Linked DNA regions of Homo sapiens: all the other regions are linked to region 2. Evidence: promoter capture Hi-C in human tissues and cell types (Jung and others, 2019). All regions are on one chromosome and are shown on one strand. The core of a region is centred on a gene start or on the middle of the fragment in contact, and the rest is flanking DNA. Distances in the headings are between cores, read along the strand shown. Region 1 has its middle 8.2 kb from the start of GRK3. Region 2 holds the start of MYO18B (myosin XVIIIB). Region 3 has its middle 28 kb from the start of GRK3. Region 4 overlaps GRK3 (G protein-coupled receptor kinase 3).

What was found. Contacts are between HindIII fragments. The study calls those that stand out against the background at their distance.
Region 1: a contact is called between a fragment that was not itself captured here and the fragment with the promoter of MYO18B in region 2, in 1 of the 25 tissues and cell types used here (lymphoblastoid cells).
Region 3: a fragment that was not itself captured here is called in contact with the fragment with the promoter of MYO18B in region 2 in 1 of the 25 tissues and cell types used here (dorsolateral prefrontal cortex).
Region 4: a fragment that was not itself captured here is called in contact with the fragment with the promoter of MYO18B in region 2 in 5 of the 25 tissues and cell types used here (dorsolateral prefrontal cortex, heart right ventricle, mesenchymal stem cells and 2 more).

Annotation. Positions count from the first base shown.
Region 1 is chr22:25,553,748-25,559,248 of GRCh38, forward strand. No RefSeq gene overlaps it. Among named protein-coding and RNA genes, the nearest start is that of GRK3, 8.2 kb to the right of the region's middle. The HindIII fragment of the contact is 4,555 bases long and covers 1-3,649 here.
Region 2 is chr22:25,739,927-25,745,556 of GRCh38, forward strand. It overlaps MYO18B (myosin XVIIIB), which reads left to right and starts at 2,262. Exons shown (of 44, transcript NM_032608.7): 1 at 2,262-2,367. The HindIII fragment of the contact is 19,978 bases long and covers 1-5,630 here.
Region 3 is chr22:25,533,728-25,539,048 of GRCh38, forward strand. No RefSeq gene overlaps it. Among named protein-coding and RNA genes, the nearest start is that of GRK3, 28 kb to the right of the region's middle. The HindIII fragment of the contact is 3,727 bases long and covers 726-4,452 here.
Region 4 is chr22:25,573,908-25,579,904 of GRCh38, forward strand. The region is part of intron 1 of GRK3 (G protein-coupled receptor kinase 3); the gene reads left to right. Among named protein-coding and RNA genes, the nearest start is that of GRK3-AS1, 11 kb to the left of the region's middle. The HindIII fragment of the contact is 6,370 bases long and covers 1,178-5,997 here.

The DNA.
Region 1 (5,501 bases), core at 122-2,621, 190 kb before region 2:
TAGCTACTCAAGAGGCTGAGGTGGGAGGATTGCTTGAGCCTGGGAGGTTGAGGCTGCAGTAATCACACCACTGCACTCCAGCCTGGGCAACAGAGCCAGATCCTATTTTTGTTTTTTAGTCTCAACCGTCTAATCATGCCTTGGTTTTGTGGGTAACCAGTCCCCATCTTGAAGTTGTCTAGGGACCCTAGCCACCAGTCATCTCACTAACATACAAAAGACACTCTTAACATTTTGGAGGTTCCAAGGATTTTAGGAGCTCTGTGCCAGGAAATGGATGAAGACCAAATGTATATATACATGAATATTTAATATATACATGATATTAATATATATGAATATGTAATAAGAATATCTATTAATCTTTATAAATCACAATATCATATCAGCCAACATATCTCACCCAGTTTAAGTGCTGGTGACAGACAACCACACCATTAGTAGATGGGAGAAAACTCCCTGGAGAGCTGCTGAAATCCCATAACTCATGACAAGCAGATGAAGGCTTTCTGAGCCAAACATCCCATGACATCGGGATTGTAATTCCAGTCTTGGGAAATTGCTTTTTCTCTTGCAATTTGCTAGATTCTAAGGGGGGATCAAAAGAGTCACAAAGACTCCCCAGTGGGCTGTTAGCTGCAGCAACATTTCTTGAGCAAGTATTCAGCCTGGGAAGCTTCCTGATCATGTGCTCAGTGTCCACATGGATGGGAGCTGGACTGATGGAGTAAGAAAGATCAGTGAGCACAGGGGAGAGGTCAGATGTTGTCAAATACACCATCCCTGGGTGAGCCCCAGAGAGCCTTTGCCCCCAGCCAATTAGCCCAACAAGTTACCATCTGTATGTGGCATCTATTTGCATAGCACACACTGTTCCCTGCACTTCTGAGGAAGAGGTGAAACAGACTGGGACTTTTCTTTTCAAGACCTCAAGGGTGGAAACACTTTTGCCTGCAGTTGCCCATGGTTCTTGTTTGTTTAGAAAAATTAAGGCCTGGATGGACAGAGCTATCATTTGTTTGCTTCCTCTCATTTCTATTTAAAGCAGTTTATAAAGAAAGTCCTCCAGAAAAATCCAGCCGGCTCCCCACCCCCACACATGCCTTTTCTGGACTGTGTTAAAGGGAGGGAAAGGTTATTATCCAGAGAGCAGTCAGAGTTCTCTTTCATAAGGTCAATTGGGTCATGTCACGTCCCTGCTGAAAGCCCATCTCTGGCTTCTCATTGCTCTCAGGACAAAGACCCAGCTCTTTGGTGTGGCCTCCAAGGCCCTGCAGGGTCTGGCCTCTGCCCAGTCTCAGGTGTCATCACACATCCTACTCTTTGCTTCCCAGCTATGCTCCTTGTTTGCCGCCCAGGGCCTTTGCCTGGCTGTATGGTCCACCTGGAGGCTGTCTCTGACCCCCTTCTGTTCCTCCTTCCATTCTCAGCTTAAATGTCACCTCCTCAGAGAAGGCCTCCTGGACCCACAACCAACTGTGGGCTCTTCAAAGACATCTATTACATCATTTTGGCTCATAGCACAATTTTAATAAATTAACCAATTAACTGCCAATGCACCCCCCTGCAAATATGTTATTCCATGAAGGTGGAGGGTGTCTACCTGTCCACCACTGTCATCCCGGTACCTCACATACAGTAGGTTTCCAAGAAAAAGTTGCCAATAATTGGTTGATGGACTGAAGAAATCAATGGAGATCAGTGTAACTGTTTAATGTGAGAACTTCCTTGGCCCCTGGAGGGCCTGGGAGGAAACCTTTCCTCATCTTTAGATAATTACCACTTTGGCTTTTGGGTTTATGGTGGCTGGATTATGATTCTTTTCAGAGGACTGATGTCTGGTCAGGTTTGGTGATGCTTATGAGAAAGGTTGTTAGCCTGGCAAGACAGACAGTGACATTTGCTGGTTACAGGGACAGGAAGGAGGGCTTCAGGGCTGGAGCAGTTCCAATCCCCAACTAAGTCTTCCATGCTCCAACACTGGCCCCAAGAATGTGATTCTCTGGAGGAGAGCATTCTAGACTTGACAGTGGCCAGGATTCCAGGACGTTTTGTGGTCTCCTGCCAAGTTTCATGCTCAGTTCTTTCCAGAAACAGTTATAAGCAGTGGGGGCCCTGGGAGTGTGTGTAGGTGTCTTCGAGCCCAGGCACGGGGTCCATCAGGCCTGACTGCTCCAAAGAGGACTTCACGCATTCCAGCCCCACTGAGCCCTTATGGTGTGTCCTGTGATCTCATCTAGCTCTTACAATAATCTTTACAATAGTTAATTACCCTCACATTATAAAAGAGACAACTGGGAGTCAGAGTGAAATCACTTAGTCTAAGATCGTTCGAGTACTGTCAGAAGCGAGATTCAAATTGAGGCCTTCCTTATTTTAATGTTCATCCTCTTTCCTTTCAACTGTATCACGATGCCTGAAATTATTCCAGCTGAACAAAGTCAGCCTGAATGATTCCTGGCGTTAAGGAAAAACCTGCTGCCCCTAACATATCACACACACACACACACACACACACACACACACACACACACACACACACACAAACTAGCAACCCAGTTGTATGAAATTCCTTTAAGAAAGGCAAACTCTACTATTTTATAATCAAGCATATGGTTTAAAATTCAGACACTCCTGGCCGGGTGTGGTGGTTCACACCTGTAATCCCAGCAGTTTGAGAGGCCAAGGCAGGGAGATCATTTGAGGCCAGGAGTTCGAGACCAGCCTGGCCAACATGGTGAAACTCTATCTCTATTAAAAATACAAAAATTAGCTGGGCATGGTGGCACATGCCTATAATCCCAGCTACTCGGGAGGCCGAGGCAGGAGAAGCGCTTGAACCTGGGAGGTGGAGGTTGAGGTTGCAGGGTGCTGAGATTGCCGAGATCGCACCACTGCACTCCAGCCTAGGTGACAGAGCAAGACTTACCTGGTCTCAAAAAAATTAAAAAAAAAATAAAAAATAAAAATAAATCAGACATTTCTGGGAAAATTGACCTACCAACAAATTCACACTAAGGCGTATATGATGGACAGGACATCTTTTGATGAGAGCAGCTTTTGATTAAGGAGGAGAACACGGAGGAGAAGAGAGAGGCACTTGTTCTTGAAGGGCTAAAGGGGCAAGGGGAGGTGGGAGGAAGTGGAGAGGAAGACAGAAAAAAGGAAACAGGAGAAAAGGGCTTAGAACGTGATAGGAGCCCACCAAGAGAATTTTTGGCAGATTTCCATTATTGCCTACAAGTGTCTCAGTGGCTTCTCTCCCAGAGATGCCAGGGGTGATATCTGAGCAGAGATCTGAATGGTGAGAGGCCAAAACAAGGCCTTGAAGGAGAGTGTTCCAGGCAAATGGAAAAGGAAGACAAAACCCTCAAGGTTGGAATTGCTTGGTCGGTGTGACCCGGGCATCATGGGAGGACTTGGGATTAGCATGAGGTGAGTCGGAAAGAGAATTTGAATGGGGTTTTATTGTGCACTTTAACATGCCTTATTTGATGTTGTTTCACTCACAGCCCCATGACTTAGAGTACAAGGACATTCAGAGGACAGGGGTTGAGGGAGAAGTCCTGGGTTGAGACTGCCTGAATTCATACCCTATGAATTTAGTTGTTGCACTTACGTTGCAAGTGACTTGAGATTTTTCTTTTGGCTAAAATGAGCCCAACCAGCTGGGCACAGTGGCTCACGCCTGCAATCTCAGCACTTTGGGAGGCTGAGGCGGGTGGATTGCTTGAGCTCGCGAGTTCAAGATCAGCCTGGGCAACATGGTAGCACCCCCCAAAAGACAAAAAAAAAAAGCCAGGCATGGTGACATATCCCTGTGGTCTCAGCTACTTGGGAGGCTGAAGTGGGAAGACTGCTTAAACCCAGGAGGTTGAGGCAACGGTGAGCTGAGATCACAGCACTGCAATCCAGCCTTGGTGACAGAGTGAGACCCTGTCTCAAACAAACAAAACAAAAACCCACAAAACGAAAAATGAGGCCAACCCTCTCCATTATAGGTGTCTGAGGAAGATTATTAAGATAGTCCCACAAAGTGTTTAACATGATAGTTGGCACAAAGTTAGTATTTAATAAGTGTTTTCTATTATTATTTTCATTTGCTACAGCCAAAGCACTTATTTGGAAGAGCATTTCAGTGTGGCTATAAGCCTCCTGAAATTGATTATGTGCCTTGGCAGATGAGTGGTTTCTTTTTAGTGCCTGCCACATTGATGATACTCAATAAATATTTGTTGCATGAATGAAAGTGTGAACTACTGTGTCACGGGTTAGGCAGACATAGAAGTAGAACATAACAGTGTGGGTGGAGGAGTTAGCAGATCATTTGGCAGGCAATGGGGAGCTATTGAAGGTTTTTGAGCAGGGGCAGGAGAGTGTCAGATGGATTGAAGGAGGGAGGGTTTGGAAACAGGACAAGGAGTTGGCAACCTGTGGGCACCTTCCAGGTGAGAAGTCAGAGAGATCTGGTCCAGGGAGAAGGGAAGTGGGAGGGCCTTCGTTTTGTACTTGGCTGCTTCAGAGGCCTGCAAATCACCCTGGACCATGAGTGATGTGCTGGTCTGCTTACTGCAGCTACCCTCATCTGGGTCTCTTGGACTGCTACCCTAGCTCTCTCTAGCGCCTCCCTTAATTCAACTATCCCCCCCTGCCTCCAACTGGATCTGCATCCCCAGCCAGAAGAATCCTATAAAATGGTCCATCTGATTTTGTCACTCTCCTCTTGGAAACCTTCCACTGGCTTTCTGGTGCCCCGAGGATAGCTTCAATTTCCCACTGTGGCTCCAGGTGCTGCAGAATCAAGGCCGGCTGATCTCTCTGACCTGCCTCTCCCTCCTCTCCTCCTTTGTCTGGTGGCTGTCCATCTGGGCTCCGCTGATCTGACCTTTCTCTAATCTGGAACTCCCTCCCCTAAGTGAGGCCAGTCTGAACAACTTCAGGGTGGGAGATTGCCTGGGCATCTTGTTCCAGTGCAGATTTGGCTTAAGTCTGTGGTGGGGCCTAAGATGTCAATGTTTCTGCTGTGTTGGCACCACCTGGGGGCTTGCAAGGAGTGCAGATTCTCAGGCCCTGATTGGACCTCTGAATCCGAATCTGCATGTTGGCAATTTCAGCACATAAGTGTCTGGGGGTGCTGGTGGCAAGCACGTCTTAGGAGCATGTGACAGCTTCTCTGGTGGCTCCCTGGGGAGGGTAGGGGTGGTCCTCTGAGATCAGGGTTATGCCAGGCCTGGCCCAGGCACCCTGATTTCATAATTGAGTGTGACCTGTTTGAATCTCTATTCATGAACTGCTCTATACCAAGCAGTTTGGGAGTTATTTCTGTTGATCAAGAGAGAAGAAACAGACCTGGCCAGGACAGGAAGAGACAAGCTCTGAGAGGTGGGGGGTGGATTTGCTCAGTACCTGCTGCCACTGGCCCAGGTGGCATGCCCCAAAATGACCTGCCCTTGTAAGGGGGTGCCGTGGGAGATGCAGAAAAGTTCTGGCCTTTTGTGACT
Region 2 (5,630 bases), core at 1,012-3,511:
ACAAAATCTTGCTTATAAGGGCTGCCCTAAATCACCGTGTGCTCAAGGTAATACTTGGTCATCTTGTGTAGCAAAAATCCACCCACCACAGGTACCAACAAGGTGAATGGAGCAAACACATGCCATGTTGACTCCTTGGGGAACGGAGGTCCCTTCAAGTCAACGGAACCATCACTGCAGGTCATGGCCTATAGAGAGTCCCAGCCCTGGGCCCAGAGAATCATTTCTGCATGTCAACTCTACCACTTCAGACCAACAGCGTCGGAAAGACAGCAAGGACAGAAAAGCCCAGGAGCCAATGGTTCAGGACTTGTGATGCAAGGGGCGGGAGAAGGGAGGTTCTTGTTTCAATGTCAAATGATCTAGCACAACCTGGAGAAAACAGCTCACCGGGACCTGTCTCCAAACTCTTCCCCTGGTGTGGCCTAAATGTCCCATGCCACTCTCCACTGGGGGCCGCAGGGACCCCTCCTCAACCTCATGTATATTATGTATATTGTATTTTCTTTTTCTTTCTTTTCTTTTCTTTTTTTTTTCAAAATGTAGTTTTGCTCTTGTCGCCCAGGCTGGAGTGCAATGGCGCCATCTCTGCTCACTGCAACCTCTGACTCCTGGGTTCCAGCTATTCTCCTGCCTCAGCCTCCCGAGTTGCTGGGATTACAGGTGCCCGCCACCACGCCCAGCTAATTTTCGTATTTTTAGTAGAGGTGGGGTTTCACCATGTTGGCTAGGCTGGTCTCAAACTCCTGACCTCAAATGATCCACCCGCCTTAGCCTCCCAAAGTGCTGGGATTACAGGTGTGAGCCACCATACCCGGCCTAGACTGCCATTTTCTAAGCAGCCTTCCCTTAGTGTTTCAATGAACTTCTGATTGAATGCTAATTTTCAAGACCTCGGCAGAAGTGAGTACTTTGGGAAAATATTGCTCGATGAGCTCTGGGGAAAGAGGAGCAGCACCACATAGCAATTATTGAAACAATTCTCACAGGAGCAGTATCATGCTGGGCTGATTGCGGTCTTTGGAACCAGAAAGACTTGGATTTGAGTCATGACTCTACCCTTTGCTAGCTGCATGGACCTGCATGGTTTATCCAATTTATTGAAGTCTGTACTTTGCTCCTTTTAGGCAGTGGACAAAGCACTTTTTTTGTTGTTGTTTTTTTGAGATAGAGTCTCTTATCGCCTAGGCTAGAGTGCAGTGGCGTGACCTTAGCTCATTGCAACCTCCGCCTCCTGGGTTCAAGCAATTCTCCTGCCTCAGCCTCCCAAGTAGCTGGGATCACAGACAACCACTACCCCACCCAGCTGATTTTTTTTTTTTTTTTTGAGATGGAGTCTCTCTCTGTCACCCAGGCTGGAGTGCAGTGGCGCGATCTCGGCTTACTGCAAGCTCCGCCTGTAGCTGGGACTACAGGCGCCCACCACCACGCCCGGCTAATTTTGTTTTTGTATTTTTAGTAGAGACGGGGTTTCACTGTGTTAGCCAGGATGGTCTCAATCTCCTGACCTCGTGATATGCCCACCTCGGCTTCCCAAAGTGCCGGGATTACAGACGTGAGCCACCGTGCCAGGCCCAAAGCACTTTTTTATAGCCCCTAGTTTGCTGTTGTGTCTGTTTCCTCTACGGCCCGCACAGCCTGGGTTTGAATTCTGGCTCTCCATGGCCTTGGGCAAGTTGGTTAACTTTTTGTGTCTCAATTTCCCCACTTGTAAAGTGGGGCTGGGGAAAAACCCTACCTCATAGGGAACATTAAGTGAGTTCATGAAAGCCCTCGGTGTGTGGCATGCGATAACCACTACCTAAGCATAAGGTATGTTTACATGCACTGGTTGTTTACCACGACGCACCAGCATTCATTCAAGTTATTTTCTTCCAGAGTCTGCCTGGAATGTAGAACCGGCCAGCTCTCCTCCTCAAACAGTTCCTGCAACCTCTGGTTATCTGTGTGGGCAGAGGCGGGAGTGTGGGTGTGTGGCCCTGCCCTGGGACAGGGATGACGAGAGAGCATGTGCTTGTGTCCAGAGCTGTCCCCTTCCCTGCTCAGGGGCCACCAAATATGTCCATGGTCTCTGCTGCCTGGTCAACGGCCACCCCGGGCTGCCGTCTCCTGGCCAGACCTGGAGCTCACAAGCTAATTTTAGAAATGACTGGTCGACTCAGCTGCTGCTATCACATTGGCCCAGAAGGAGGGTGGGGGGAGGACGGGTCGGGGAGGGGCAGTAAGGGGAAGGGATGTGTGTCGGTGTGTGTGGAGAGGGTGCTCCTTCGCTCCTGCTTTCCCGGCTCGGTGGGGTCCCTTCGCGGCCACCCGGGGAGACGTCTTAGACAGTCGTGGTTCCTGTGATCTGTGTCCTCTTTGCAGAAGGTACTATTGGGCTGGGTTTTAGACGGGCACCTTGCGAGCGGATCGGCGAGTTTTAATTTTCCGGAATGCGCTGCTGGGGGCTGCGGTGGCAGGCCTCCGGTCTTTTGGTCTATTTTAGGCCTTTCTGGTGTTGAGAGCTTCCGAGGCCTGATTCCTTTGCCTGTTGCCCGTGCTGCTCACTTTGAAAACAAGAGTGTTTCGGTGGAAGGATTTGAGAACAAAATGCTGGGGCAAATGGACATTCGTAAGAATCACTCTCCTCAGGCCCCAGCTGTTCGCTAATAATTTTTAAAAATGTGTTTAGAATCATGAGTTAATCTCCACTGTGAATCTTTGCCCGCAGACGTCAGGGTTTATATTTTTCCTCAACTACCAGTAATTTCTGCTTCACTGGTGTTCAGTTATGGTCGGGGAAGAGCCAGGCTTCCCCTTTCGTGTTAACAACGCTGTTGAGTCGAAATGTTAATTTTAATGTTCTTTTTTAAACTGCAAATTAAGCATGTATGAGTGTTGGGGGAAGGGCAATGGAAGTTCATGGCTGAAGGTTTCAATTTCATGCCACCTTCCTTGAGCTCTGTCTGAGGGAAGGTGTCTTATCTGGCACCCCGGATAGCAGGCATTTCTCTGAATGAAGAAGATTCACAGGTCCCAGTGGCCCCATAGTGGGGCAGAAGGGGGCTATGCTTTGACATGGAGCTCTCTCCCAGGAGAGGAGAAGACCTCACCAGCTACAGGCCTCTGGGCTGCTGCCTTCCTGCAGCTTTTCCATGGAGGAGGCCAGGAGTGGGGAGGCCCGGAATGGGGAGCCCAGTCGGCTCCCAGTCGGCTCCAAGCTGTCCAGTCTGGCCTCAACCCGCAAGTGTGGGGATCTGGGCTTCTATCCTGTAGGGCCTGGAATACGACGAGGCTGTTACTTTCACTTTGTGGCTGTCCAAAAAGATGCTGCCTCATTCAGTGCACCAGCTCATGGAGGCTGAGTGTCCCACTAGGGCTTCTAGACTCCAACAAGGATAATGGTGGCCTTGGGTGCTGTATCCATTGCTGACCTAAGTTGTATTCTCCTATGCCTGGGTACCATGTCCAGTGTGTACCTTGGGAGCAGAAAAGAGAGGGGTCTATATACTCTTAGGCTATGGATGAGTTCTAGAAAATAATAGTGGAGAGGAGAGAGAGAAAAGAAGGAAGAGGAGGAGGAGAAGGAGAAGAAGAGAAGGAGGAGGAGGAAAAAAGCAGGAGGAGAAAGAGAAGAAGGAGGAGAAGAATAATAGCAAAGGAAAAGGCCAAAAGAAAAGGCCAAGTGGGTGGAGGAGGGAGGAGAAGGAGGAAGAGGAGGAGGAGAGGGAGTCTCCTGGTCTCCTGGCTTTTGAAGGGCTGCATGTTACCAATCAACAAATATTTGATGTCACCTGCCTCCAGGCCTGGTCACCTTGAATATCCTGGTGTGGGCTCTGTAACCTTGGATGAGTACTCTCCCCAGTCGGAACTTAGTTTCTCCTTCTAAAACCTGAGGGGGTTGGGCTAGACCACCTCTGGGATCTTTCCTAGGATTCAGCATCCAGGAAGGTTTTTCTTGAAGTGACGGTCGTTGACGACCTACCCATCAGACTCATGTGGGGCAGGAGGCGGGGGGCTGTTTTAAAATGCAGATTCCTGGGTTCATCCTAGACCTTTTGAACAGTCTTGGGGGAAGGGGCCCAGAAATCCACAGATTTTAAACCTCACAGGTGGTTCTGGTGCCCACCCAAATTGGAGAAGAGCTTTTCCTTTCACTTGAGCTAACAAAACCACAGAAGGCTGTTGCTCAGCACCTGCCCTGTCAAAACTCATGGAATTTCCATGTTTCACAAACATGGAAAACGTGCACAGCACTTTATTAGGGTCTAACTATCGCAAAGATTTTATTGGGCAGGTGTTCCTCCAGGGGTAAGATCAAGACTTTCTATGGCATTTTGAGGTGGGAATGGAGGGCCCCCAAACTGAGCAGAACCACTTCCAGCTGCCAAAAGATAGGGACCTGGGGCTGTGAGCCTACAAGGCTATGGGGAGATGGCCCTTCACTGGGTCCTGCTAGATACAAACAACTGTCTGAATGGCCCATTTGAAGCACATGGTCAGCTGCTGTGGTGTGTGGCATATCTTTAATATTTAAACAAAGTGGCCGGGCGCGGGGGCTCACGCCTTTAATCCCAGCACTTTGGGAGGCCGAGGTGGGCAGATCACGAGGTCAGGAGATCGAGACCATCCTGGCTAACACGGTGAAACCCCGTCTCTACTAAAAACACAAAAAAAAATTAGCCGGGCGTGGTGGTGGGTGCCTGTAGTCCCAGCTACTTGGGAGGCTGAGGCAGGAGAATGGCATGAACCTGGGAGGTGGAGCTTGCAGTGAGCCGAGATCACGCCATTGCACTCCAGCCTGGGGACAGAGAGAGACTCCGTCTCAAAAATAAAAATAAAAATAAAAATAAACAAAATGAAATTAAATTTTCTGAAAAATGGAGGAGGTGGGTTTGAGACCAGGGAGGATCCCCCTCCCCTCCAGAGTGCTGCCAAATCCAACCCCTCCTGTTGAGAGATGGTGCAGCTGAGGCACAGAGAGGGAAAGCCACTTGTTCAAGGACACACAGCCCTGCAGCAAGAGCATTGGGCCAAGATCAGCCCCTGCTGTCACGGCTGGTGTTCAGGGAGCAACCACGAGCCCCTTATGTTAGAAATAATAGTCAAATCCACCATATATATTATCCCCCCGCACCAAGATCTTAAGGAAAGGATAAACCTCAGCTCTCATTTGAATGGGGGCAGCAAAAATAAATTGCGTCTTATTTTATTTTTATTTTGAAACAAGGGCTGGCTCTATCACCCAGGCTGGTGTGCAGTGGCCCAATCTCGGCTCACTGCAACCTCTGCCTCCGAGGTTTAAGCCATCCTCCCATCTCAACCTCCTGAGTAGCTGGGACTACAGGAGTGCACCACCACGCCCGGCTAATTTTTATACTTTTTGTAGAGATGGGGTTTCACCATGTTGCCCAGTCTGGTCTCAAACTTGGGAGCTCAAGTGATCCACCCACCTCAGCCTCCCAAAGTGTTGGGATTACAGGCGTGGAACCACTGCGCCTGGCAGAAAATGAACTTTATGACACAAACAAGGGCCTTGGACATCAAGGTAGATTTCTCTCTCTCTGACACACACACACACACACACACACACACACGCACACACATCTCATTCAGTCTGAAGGATCCAGAGACACCATTAGCTTCATATG
Region 3 (5,321 bases), core at 1,339-3,838, 210 kb before region 2:
GGAGGGATGAATCCTTCCCTAGTACTCCCTGTCTTAAAGAATGCTGCTACTAGTAATGCGGGTGCCAGAGCCAGAAATCTGGGATTTGCTTTTATTCCTTTCTTTTCCTTAGCCCCGTCCACCTGCATGCAATAAATGAGAACCAGCCCTACTTGTTTTACTTCCTAAGTGCCTGTAAAATATCACTTATTTATTTTGATTTTTAATTGTAGTAAAATACACTTAACATAAAATTTACCACTTTTTTATTTTTCTTTTTCCTTCTTTTTTTTTTTTTTTGAGACAGAGTCTTGCTCTGTTGCCCAGGCTGGAGTGCAGTGGCGTGATCTCAGCTCACAGCAACTTCCATCTCCCGGGTTCAAGAAATTCTCCTGCTTAAACCTCCTGAGTAGCTGGGATTACAGGCACCCACCACCACACCCAGCTAATTTTTGAATTTTTAGTAGAGACGGGGTTTCACCATTTTGGCCAGGCTGGTCTCAGACTCCTGGTCTCAGGTGATCTGTCCGCCTCAGCCTCCCAAAGTGCTGGGATTATAGGCATGAACCACAGCACCCGGCCAATTTACCACCTTAATTTTTTAGTGTACAATTCAGTGATATTAAATGTACATTCATATTGTTGTGCAACTGTCACGACAGTCTATCTTAAGAACCCTTTTCATTTTGTAAAACTGAGACTATAAAACAGTAACTCCTCATTCGCCCCAACCCCCAGCTCCTGGCAACCACCATTCTACTTTCTGTCTCTATGATTTTGAGAACTCTAAGTATTTCACATAAGCGAATCATACAGTATTTGCCTCTTTGTGACTGGTTTATTTCACTTAGCATAGTATCCTCAAGGTTTATCCATGTTGTAGCATGTGCCAGAATTTCCTTCCCTTTTAAGGCTGACTAGTATTCTTTTGTATGGATATACCACATTTACTTATCCTTTCATTGGTGGATGGACATTTGGGTTGCTTCCACAGTTTTCAGCTCTTGTGAATGATGTTGCTGTGGACATTAGTGTACAAACAACTCTTCAAGACCCTGCTTCCTATTCTTTTGGGTATATACTCTAAAGAGGAATTGCTAGATGATGTGAAAATTCTATTTCGGTTTTCAGGAACTGCCATACTGTGTTCTACAGAGACTGTACCATTTTACATTCCCACCAGCAGGGCATAGGTGTTCCCATTTCTCCACATCCTCGCCAACACTTGTCATTTTCTGTTTTTTTGATCGTAGCCATCCTAATGGGTGTGAGGTGGTATCTCACTGTGGTTTTGGTTGCCATTCCCCTAATGATTAGTGATTCTAAGCATCTTTTCTTGTGCTTATTGGCATTTGTATATCCCTTTCAGAGACATGTCTATTCAAGTTGTTTGGATTGAACTGGGTTGTTTGGCCTTTGTTGTTGTTGAGTTGTAGGAGTTCTCTATATATTCTGGATATGAATCCCTTATCAGGTATATGACTTGCAAATACTTTCTCCCATTCTATAGGTTTCCTTTTCACTGTGTTGAGAATGTCCTTCAATGCACCAAAGTTTTTAATTTTCATGAAGTTCGGTTTGTCTATTTCTTTCTTTTTTTTGCCTGTGCCAAGTGCCTTTTGAACCTCTCTCTACCCACCACTACCTTAACCCAGTCCAGGCCAATATTTTCCTGGACTCCTGTAATTGCCTTCTTACTGCTCCCTCATAGCCCTCACTGAAAACTTTTCTGTGGATCCCCCTTACCCTCAGAACAAAACTCAATCTCCTTACCATGTGAATCTTTGCACATCTCTGCCTCTCCAAGGCATAGTGCACCTGGCATGTAAAGTGCTCAATAAACAGTCACTGTTAAATTAGGTGGTAGCTTGGGGATCTCTGAGACATCTTCTTATCTAAAGGTACCTCTCTCACCAAGCTTCCAGTGTCTCTGAACCCCACATTAGATATGCATTTCTGAACCCATCCCATAGTTCTAGTTGTCCACTTTAAAAATAGTTGTAATCATGGACATACGGGGTACACTAGACACTGGAGGCTGCAAAAGGTGAGAGGGTAGGAGGGGGCATGAGGGTTGAAAAATTGCCTATTGGGTACAATGTTCGCTATTCTGATGATGGGTAGACTAAAAGCCCAGATTTCACCACTATGGGATATATGTATGTAAGAAACCTGCATTTGTACTCTCTAAATATATAAAAATAAAAATAAGGCCATGCACGATGGCACACCTAGCACTTTGGGAAGCTGAAGCCAGGAATTTGAGACCAGCCTGGGCAACACAGGGACACCCACCTCTACAAAAAAAAATTTAAAAAATTAGCTAGGGGTGGTGGCATGCACCTGTAGTCCCCAGCTACTTGGGGGACTGAGGCAAGAAGATTGCTTGAGGCTGGGAGGTTGAGGCTGCAGTGAATTATGATCACACTACTGCACCCCATCTGGAACAACAGAGCGAGACCCTGTCTCTAAAATAAATAAAATAAAAGAGTTGCAATATTGAAACAAAGATTGTAGAAACCAAAGGCATACATCTGAGCCTGAAGGCTGTTACTTACCTACCAGCTGTGTGATGCAATTAAGATCTCTGGACCTTTGTTTCCTTATGTGTAAATTGAAGGCAATAAAGCAAATTTTACAAAGATATTGCGTGATCTAGGGATCATATCTGTGAAGTGTCTGCTCTGTTTAACACATCACTGCCACTCTAGAAGTTCCTACAGTTTGGATGATTAATAACTACAAAGAAAAAATAATAAGTGAAATAAACAAAAAATGGGGGCATTCAAAGAAAAGACTGACGGAAACTCTTGAGTGGCACAAGACATAAATATTGTGGGTAAGATCAACTCTTCTTCCACTGTGATTGTCTCTTTGGAGGGGCACTGCTTGCTTTTCCTAGAAAGATATCTTCATCTTCTACTGAGTCACCATAAAACAATAAAGAAGAAACATGGGTAGTGTCCAAATATTTTGGTAACAATCAACTTGTAGTCAGCTGTTGCTGGGATAAGGCTGCACAGTGAGCCCAAGATCTCAGCGGCTTGTGACAAACAACATTCATTTCTCTCCCATGGGTCTGGATATCAGCCACAGTTAACTGGGCTCAGATTCAGGACAGCTCCGTGTGTCTTTCACGTTAGGACCAGGATAAAGGAGCAGTGACTACTTGGAGCATACTCATCATGGTGACAGCAAGTATACAAGAGGCTAAGCCACGGCACATAAATATACTTAAAGCCTCTGTTTGCATCATTTCTGCTTGTGGGCCATTGGCCAAAGTAAATCACAGGGCGGCAGCTCAAGTCAGTGGGGTAGCATCGTACACTCTCTAAAGAGAAGCCATGGCCAAGGTGGGAGAGAAAGAAGAGTCATGAACAAACAATACCATCGACCACTCCACTGTAACTCTCATGTTCACTGATTTATCTCAATGGTTTTTTTTGGGTTTTTTTTTTTTTTTTTTTTGAGATGGAATCTCTCTCTGTCTCCCAGGCTGGAGAGCAACGGCCCAATCTCGGCTCACTGCAACCTCCGCCTCCTGGTTCAAGCGATTCTCCTACCTTAGCCTCCCGAGTAGCTGGGATTACAGGCGTGCGCCACAACACCCAGCTAATTTTTGTATTTTTCATAGAGATGGGTTTTCACCATGTTGGCCACGCTAATCTCGAACGCCTGACCTCAGATGATCCATCCGCCTTGGCCTCCCAAAGTTCTAGGATTACAGGCATGAGCCACTGCACCGGCCTCAATGGTTATTAAAACTATACCCAAAGGAGGCCGGGCGCGGTGGCTCACGCCTGTAATCCCAGCACTTCGGGAGGCTGAGGCGGGCGGATCACAAGGTCAGGAGATCGAGACCATCCTGGCTAACACGGTGAAACCACCTCTCTATTAAAAATACAAAAAGTTTGCCGGGCATGGTGGTGGACACCTGTAGTCCCAGCTACTTGGGAGGCTGAGGCAGGAGAATGGGGTGAACCTGGGAGGCAGAGCTTGCAGTGAGCCGAGATCACGCCACTGCCCTCCAGCCTGGGTGACAGAGTGAGACTCCATCTCAAAAAAAAAAAAAAAAAAAAAAAACTACACCCAAAGGAAAATGAATCAATCCACCCAAAAAGCACATGCACTCATATGTTTATCTCAGTTCTAGTCACAATAGCAAAGACATGGAATCAACCCAGGTGCCCATCAATGGTGGATTGAATAAAGACAATGTGGTACATACACACCATGGAATACTATGCAGCCTTAAAAGACAATGAAATCAGCCAGGCGTGGTGGCTCATGCCTGTAATCCCAGTACTTTGGGAGGCCGGGGCGGGCAGACCACCTGAACTCAAGAGTTCAAGACCACCCTGGGCAACATGGTGAAACCCCGTCTCTACTAAAATACAAAAAGTTAGCTGGGCATGGTGGCCCGCACCTGTAGTCCCAGCTACTTGGGAGGCTGAGGCATGAGATTTGCTTGAGCCTCAGAGGCAGAGGTTGGAGTGAGCTGAGATGGTGTCACTCCCTCCAGCCTGGGCAACAGAGCAAGACTCTGTCAAAAAAAAAAAAAAAAAAGAATGAGATCATGTCCTTTGCAGCAATATGGATGCAGCTAGAGGCCATCATCCTTAGCAAACTAACACAGGAACAAAAAACCATTTACTGCATGTTCTCACTTATCTATGGGAGCTAAGCATTGGGTACATGCAGACACAGAGATGGGAGAAATAAACACTGCGGATTCAAAAAGTGGGGAGGGAGGTAGGAGCATAAGGCTTGAAAAACTACCTATTGGCTACTATGTTCACTACTTGGGCAACGGAATCAGTAGAGACCCAAACTTCATCATCACACAGTCTACCCATGTAACAAACCTGCACATGTACCCTTTGAATCTAAAATTTAAAAAAAGAAACTATTTTGTCTTTTCAGCATGCACAACCTATTGGGGGAATTATTGCCTTATTTATTATTGGTTGGGAAGGTAAGATTTCTCTGATTTTCATACTAAGAAATAAATAACAATTATGATGGCCATAATCTATGGAGTGTTTGCGATATGTCACACTGCTTCCATATGTGACCTCCTTTATATCTCCCCACAATTCTAGGAGGAAGGCACCTTGATAGTCATATTTTATAGACAAGGAAGACAAAATGCTGGGAAGTTAAGTGACTTCTCCAGGACCACACAACCAATAAATGTAACACAACCTTGGAACGAAATCTGACTGTGCCTGACTTCAAAGTCTATGCTTAAATTTCCTCTTTCATCCTCAAGGATGGCCCTGGTTCACACATTTTTTAACGATAAACTTTCTATTTGAGAATTGATTTTGATTTCAGACAAG
Region 4 (5,997 bases), core at 3,113-5,612, 160 kb before region 2:
AAACAAAAAAACCAACCAACCAACCAACCAACCAACCAAACAACAACACCAACAACACCACCACCAACAACAAAAACCCATAAAATCCCATTGGCTGGGGAAGACAGCAAGTTTCTTCAATGTCAGCAATAAAACTTTCTTGAATAATATGCTGTTAGTATTTGTGCATTGTGTCATTAAGTCGGTCCATTGATCTTTATTATCTTGTTTGGATACTAATATGTCTGGTTATATTTTCAGGTGTATTTCTTGTAATTTTTTTTGTATCTTTATTGCCTTTGATAAAAGTTTAAATTAAAAATGAGGCCAGGTGTGGTGGCTCACGCCTGCACTTTGGGAGGACAAAGCAGGAGGATTGCTTGAGCTCAGGAGTTCAAGACCAGCCTGGGCAACATGGTGAAACCCTGTCTCTACCAAAAATACAGAAAATTAGCCAGACATAGTGGTGCGCACCTATGGTCCCAACTCCAGCTACTCAGGAAGCTGAGGTGGGAGGGTTTCTTGAGCCCAGGAGGCAGATGTTGCAGTGAGCTGAAATCATGTCACTGCACTGCAGCCTGACAGAGTGAGGTCTCGTCTCAAAATACAAAGAAACAAATAAAACCAAAAACTAAAAGTTGCATGGAATGGCATTTACACAGCTGTTAAATATTGCAGACTTTCATTTTCCTTTGTGAATGTCTAAGGCCGTGATGGTATTTTGGAAACATCTTTTTTAAAAAATATGAGGTATTTGGTGGTGGTGGCGGGGTCTATTCTCTATTTAAAATGGAACGAATCCTAATGGCTAAGTAAGATCAAGGGACTTTAATACACATCTTTAACCTGGTCCTACCTTTTTCAAGTGAATTTTCTTTGTCTTTTTTTATATTATGACACAGTAACTGGGAAGAGAATCATGCAATAAATATCGTCATCACCAGTAAGTCTAGAATAGCGTGCAAAATTTCTGTGCTATCTTTTTTTGTTCCATTTTGGACCTGCTTCTTTCTGTTTTGTTTCTAGTGGCAGTGGAGAAAAGCTTGTTTTTTATGCAAAACATCCCAATAATATAGAAGAGAAAAATTGCACAATAGCAGTTTCTAAGCAATGAATGAGAGGACACGTATGTTGGTGACTTTGTTGTTTCTCTTCATCCCTCCAATAAATAAAACCGAGAGTTTTGTGGACAGGGATTTATTAGAGTTTCATCATTTAGTTGACTGGCTTATTAAATTCCACATGGAAAACTAGCTTGACTCTCCACATTTCTGTCCTTTAAGTAAGGTGACCTGCTTGATGCTGGATTGATGTTTCAAAATATTTTAAAAATTCAGGCTACTCTATAAGAAAAGCTTATTTGGAAACTCCTTCTTTTGAGATGAGAGTTCTAAGTGAAGCGTTATGGCCTATGGTTATGACTAGCTGGGGTAGCATAGATGATGGTGGAGCAGATAGAAACAGCAGGGCAAGTTTGAAGTGCTCAGTGGTGCTAGCCTTTCACAACCCTCTTTCCCTTACTTTCAGGAAACTTATGCTCTAGAACTAGGGTTTGAATTGGGTCAGTATTGAAATGATCTTAGTGAGAGGCCAACTTGCTGGACTTCTCTTCTAGATCTGTAGTTATAAAGGTTAGCTCATTAAACCCAGTGACAGTAGATGGTCATTTATTTCGTGTTTATTACAGTGGATGGTCATTTATTTAGAGTTTAAGAAAACCCCATGGTAGATAGTCATTTATTTAGAGTTTAAAAAAACCCCACTAAGATTTGTAGATGATGTTTTATAGTTTTATATATATTAACTCTTTTTAGTTTTTACAATTATGCTTGGTAGCAGGTAGAAATTTTAAAAAGAAAAAAATTACTCCAGATACATCCATGTGGAGACATTGAGAGGTATATTTTATCTGTTTGAGGACAGCTGGTTTTCTCCTTAGATACTAGTGTCTTGACTGTGGGGCAGGGAGTGGCTTTCAGCCTTCCAGACTCAGAAACTAGATTTTATTATGTCACTGTACTAAGCATCTGTCTCTTATTGTGAAACTCACATAATCAGCCAAGTCTGCCTGACTAAATTATTCTCTTCCTATAGGCCTCTGGTTCTTATTTTAAGATTAAAGACCCTTTTGAGAATCCTACTAAGTGAGAGCCTCCCCCTCCCAAAAGTGCGCTAACTCACTTACACAGATTTATCTGAAAAGCTACACTATAACTAGAATGTCCAGTTTGCTACATTGCATTAAACACTGGCTCCCACAGGAGCCTACGTGCCCAGCGTCTGTGTGGCTGGAGCTCTCTCTCGTGGGTCCCCCTTGTGGGAAGCAAAACGACCATCAGAAGGTGGTATAGCGAGCACAGACCCACAGTCGGATGAGTCAGATGGTTACTTGGGACCAAGTCACCCCTCCTAGGAGTGGCTTACGCTGGATGTCCAGTACCTGAAATCCCTGACTACAGTGGCTTTGGGACAAGTCATCTTTCCATATTTTCATGTTTCCCATTGTAATTGGTGGGCACACGTCCACTGGATTTGAGACTATAGTTCATGAAACCACTGCCAAAGCTGCCTAGACCAGAAACCTTTGCCATTTCTTGGCCATTTGTGTTATGTATTGATTTAAAGTTTTTATTCTCAGAGAGCAAGCTTTTTTCTTTATTTAGAGATTCTTGGAAATGGCTCTGTAATACTCATCATCTTATTTTAGAAGAAGGAAATTCAGGTTCAGGGAGAAGCTAATTGCTCAAGGTCGCGCTGATAACAAATGGTGCAGCTGAGCTTCAAATCCAGGTTTTCTGATTCCAAATTCAGCGTATTTTCAGAAAAACCTTCAGACTGTCTTTTTCCTGGTGAATCTTATTTTATGAGGAGGGGGCTCATGGATTTGACTAGAGGAGCACTGTCAATTTCAGACGTTAGTGACACAATTTGAAAATGCATTGTATTCATTCAGTAAAGATTATCCACTGCAGGGGTCTGAGGAAGTGCTCCAGTAGCATAATTTCACTGGCCATGTTAACTTAATAATAAATACATTAATAATTTCCTAGAAGAAAAGATGTCATAGATTCCATGTTAACTAATAAGATTGTTATTAATAATGATGGCAGTGTTATAACTTGAGAAACCAACTAAGCTACATGTCATGAGTTCTTAATGTTTTCTTACCCCAAACATCTTTTTGTGATTTTAGGTGCATTCTTAATTAAAATTCATCTCCATGCCTGCCAGTTGGTAAATGAGTATCCTTGACTTGAACACGTTTGTCAGTTACTCTAGATACAATAAAGGATTTTTTTTTTTTTTGAGACAGTCTCGCTCTCTTGCCCAGGCTGGAGTGCAGCGGTGTGATCTCGGCTCACTGTAACCTCCGCCTCCCAGGTTCAACTGATTCTCCTGCCTCAGCCTCCTGAGTAGCTGGGACTACAGATGTGCACCACCATGCCTGGCTAATATTTTTCTACTTTTTGTAGAGACAGGGTTTTGCCACATTGCCCAGGCTGGTCTCGAACTCCTGGCCTCAAGTGATTCAACTGCCTCAGCCTCCCAAAGTGTTGGGATTACAGGCATGAGCCACCGTGCCTGGCCCGTAAAGGATTTTTAATGTTAAACTTGGCACTCATTAGCAGTTCATTCTAAATTGTGATGGAAAATTAATGGAGCGGGTTGCATATCTAACCCCTACCCAGAAAGGTTGTTGAGCTCAGCTTGGGACAGAGTTGTATTTGTCAGGAGCACATTAGTAAATCCACTTATGGCTTTTGCCTTCTTCACCTAGTAATGCACGTGGAGCTTTTCCTCGTCAGCAGTATATAGATCTGTTCAGTGTTTGGAATTGCTGCATGAGATGTCAGAACTCTGATCTACTTGACCCTGTGCTCATAAGCCCAAGAGCAATTGCAGTGAATGTTCTTACATAGGTGCCTTTGGGTCTATGTGTGAGCCTTTCTCTAAGATAGACACCTAGAAATAAGTAAGATATGGGCATAGTCTACTCTACGTAGAGCTGCAAAGAAATTCTAATTTTATTCAGAAGCTTTACTGTTAAGAGTAATATTATTTTTAGTTTGAAATTATTTCATATAAACAATTATTTCATATATATATTTGGGTAAAACAAAAAAGAATAATGTCATTTTTGGTTAGAACCAAGAATTTAAGTGTAAATGAAGAGATACATGAGTACAAGATAAGAGTTAAATAAAAATTCTGTAAGATCAAATTTGAATTGGAAGGTTATTTGAAATTCATGATTTTTTTTTCAAATATGTGTGCTTATCATCCCCAGTCTTTAAAAAAATCGAAGAAACAATTGCATTTCCATCACATAGGCACCTCATACACCTGCGCCTGACTCCAGGTGTGGGTGAGATGAGCCTGGACCCTCTGTTACCTGTTGTATCAGAAAAAAAAGGAGCCATCCAAGAAATGTGGTGGGCACCTTCGCTAACAAACTCTGAGGCCAGAAGAAGGGGTTTCCACTGGCTAAAAGTGAGACACCCTGAACATCAAAAGAATATGACTGATACAAACCCCCTGTGGTGGGCAGAATGATGCCCCCCTGAAATATCCACATCTTAATCCCCAGAACCTATGAACATGTTATGTTATATGACAAGGGGGCGTTAGGGGTGTAGGTGGCATCATAGCAGCTAAGGTGCTGAGTTTAAGATAAAGAGATTATCCTGGATTATCTAGGTGGGCCCTAGTGTTACCGCCAGGGAGGCGGAGAGTTGGTGTCAGAGCGATGCAACATGAGAATGAGTCAACCAACCACTGCTGGCCTTTTGAGGAAGGAGGAAGGGGCCATGGACCGAGGAATGTGGGCAGCCTGTAGAATCTGGAAAAGGCAAGGAAATGGCCTGTCCCTTACAGCCTCCATGTGAGACCGCAGTCCTACTGACACTCTGACCGACCTCAGCCCAGGGAGGCCCATTTCAGACCTCTGACCTGCAGATCTGTAAGAGAGTCAATTTCTGCTTGATTTAAGCCACCAAGTTTGTGGTAATTTATTATGGCTGCAATAACAAACTAATAACAAAGCATGAGTTTGTGGATATCTCATGCTATCCACAAGAGATCCCCAAACAAGACAGAAGAGAACACCTCATTGATCACCACCAGCAGTAGAACCAAGGCACCTACTCTGTCTCTGAATAGTGGCAATTGAAAAGGTAAAGAATTAAGCATTTATCCTGCCTTTCCTGTAAAAACTGCTTCTTAGGGTATTTAGAACCCTAGTTGATGGTTGGGGTGGCAGGACAGGAATTCTTTTTTTTTTTTTCTTTGTGACACGCTCTCGCTCTGTCACCCAGGCTGGAGTACAGTAGTGGTGTGATCACAGCTCACTTCAGGCTCAACCTCCTGGGCTCAACTGATCCTCCCACATAGCTGGGACTAAGGGCACATGCTACCATGCCTGGCTAATTTTTTTTTTTTTGGTAGATATGGGGTTTCGCCATGTTGCCAAGGCTGGTCGAGAATTCTTGGGCTCAATGATCTGTTCACCTCAGCCTCTCAAAAAGTTGGGATTGCAGGCTTGAGCCTCTGTGCCCGACCAATGAATGAGGGGACTTCTTTTTTTATTTTTATTATTTTTTTTTTGAGATGGTGTCTCACTCTGTCCCCCAGGCTGGAGTGTAGTGGCATGATCTCAGCTCACTTCAAGCTCCATCTCCCGGGTTCACGGCATTCTCCTGCCTCAGCCTCCTGAGTAGCTGGGACTACAGGCACCCACCACCACACCCGGCTAATTTTTTGTATTTTTAGTAGAGACGTGGTTTCACCGCGTTAGCCAGGATGGTCTCGATCTCCTGACCTCGTGATCTGCCCGCCTCAGCCTCCCAAAGTGCTGGGATTATAGGAGTGGGCCACCGAGCCTGGCCGAGGGGACTTCTTTACAGAAGAATGGCAGCAAATTAATGTGGAAGGAATGGCGAAATTTTAAAAAAATCCCCATTTTGCAATTCTTAATGAAAATATTGATTTAGGCAAAGATCATCAATGTATGATATCGCT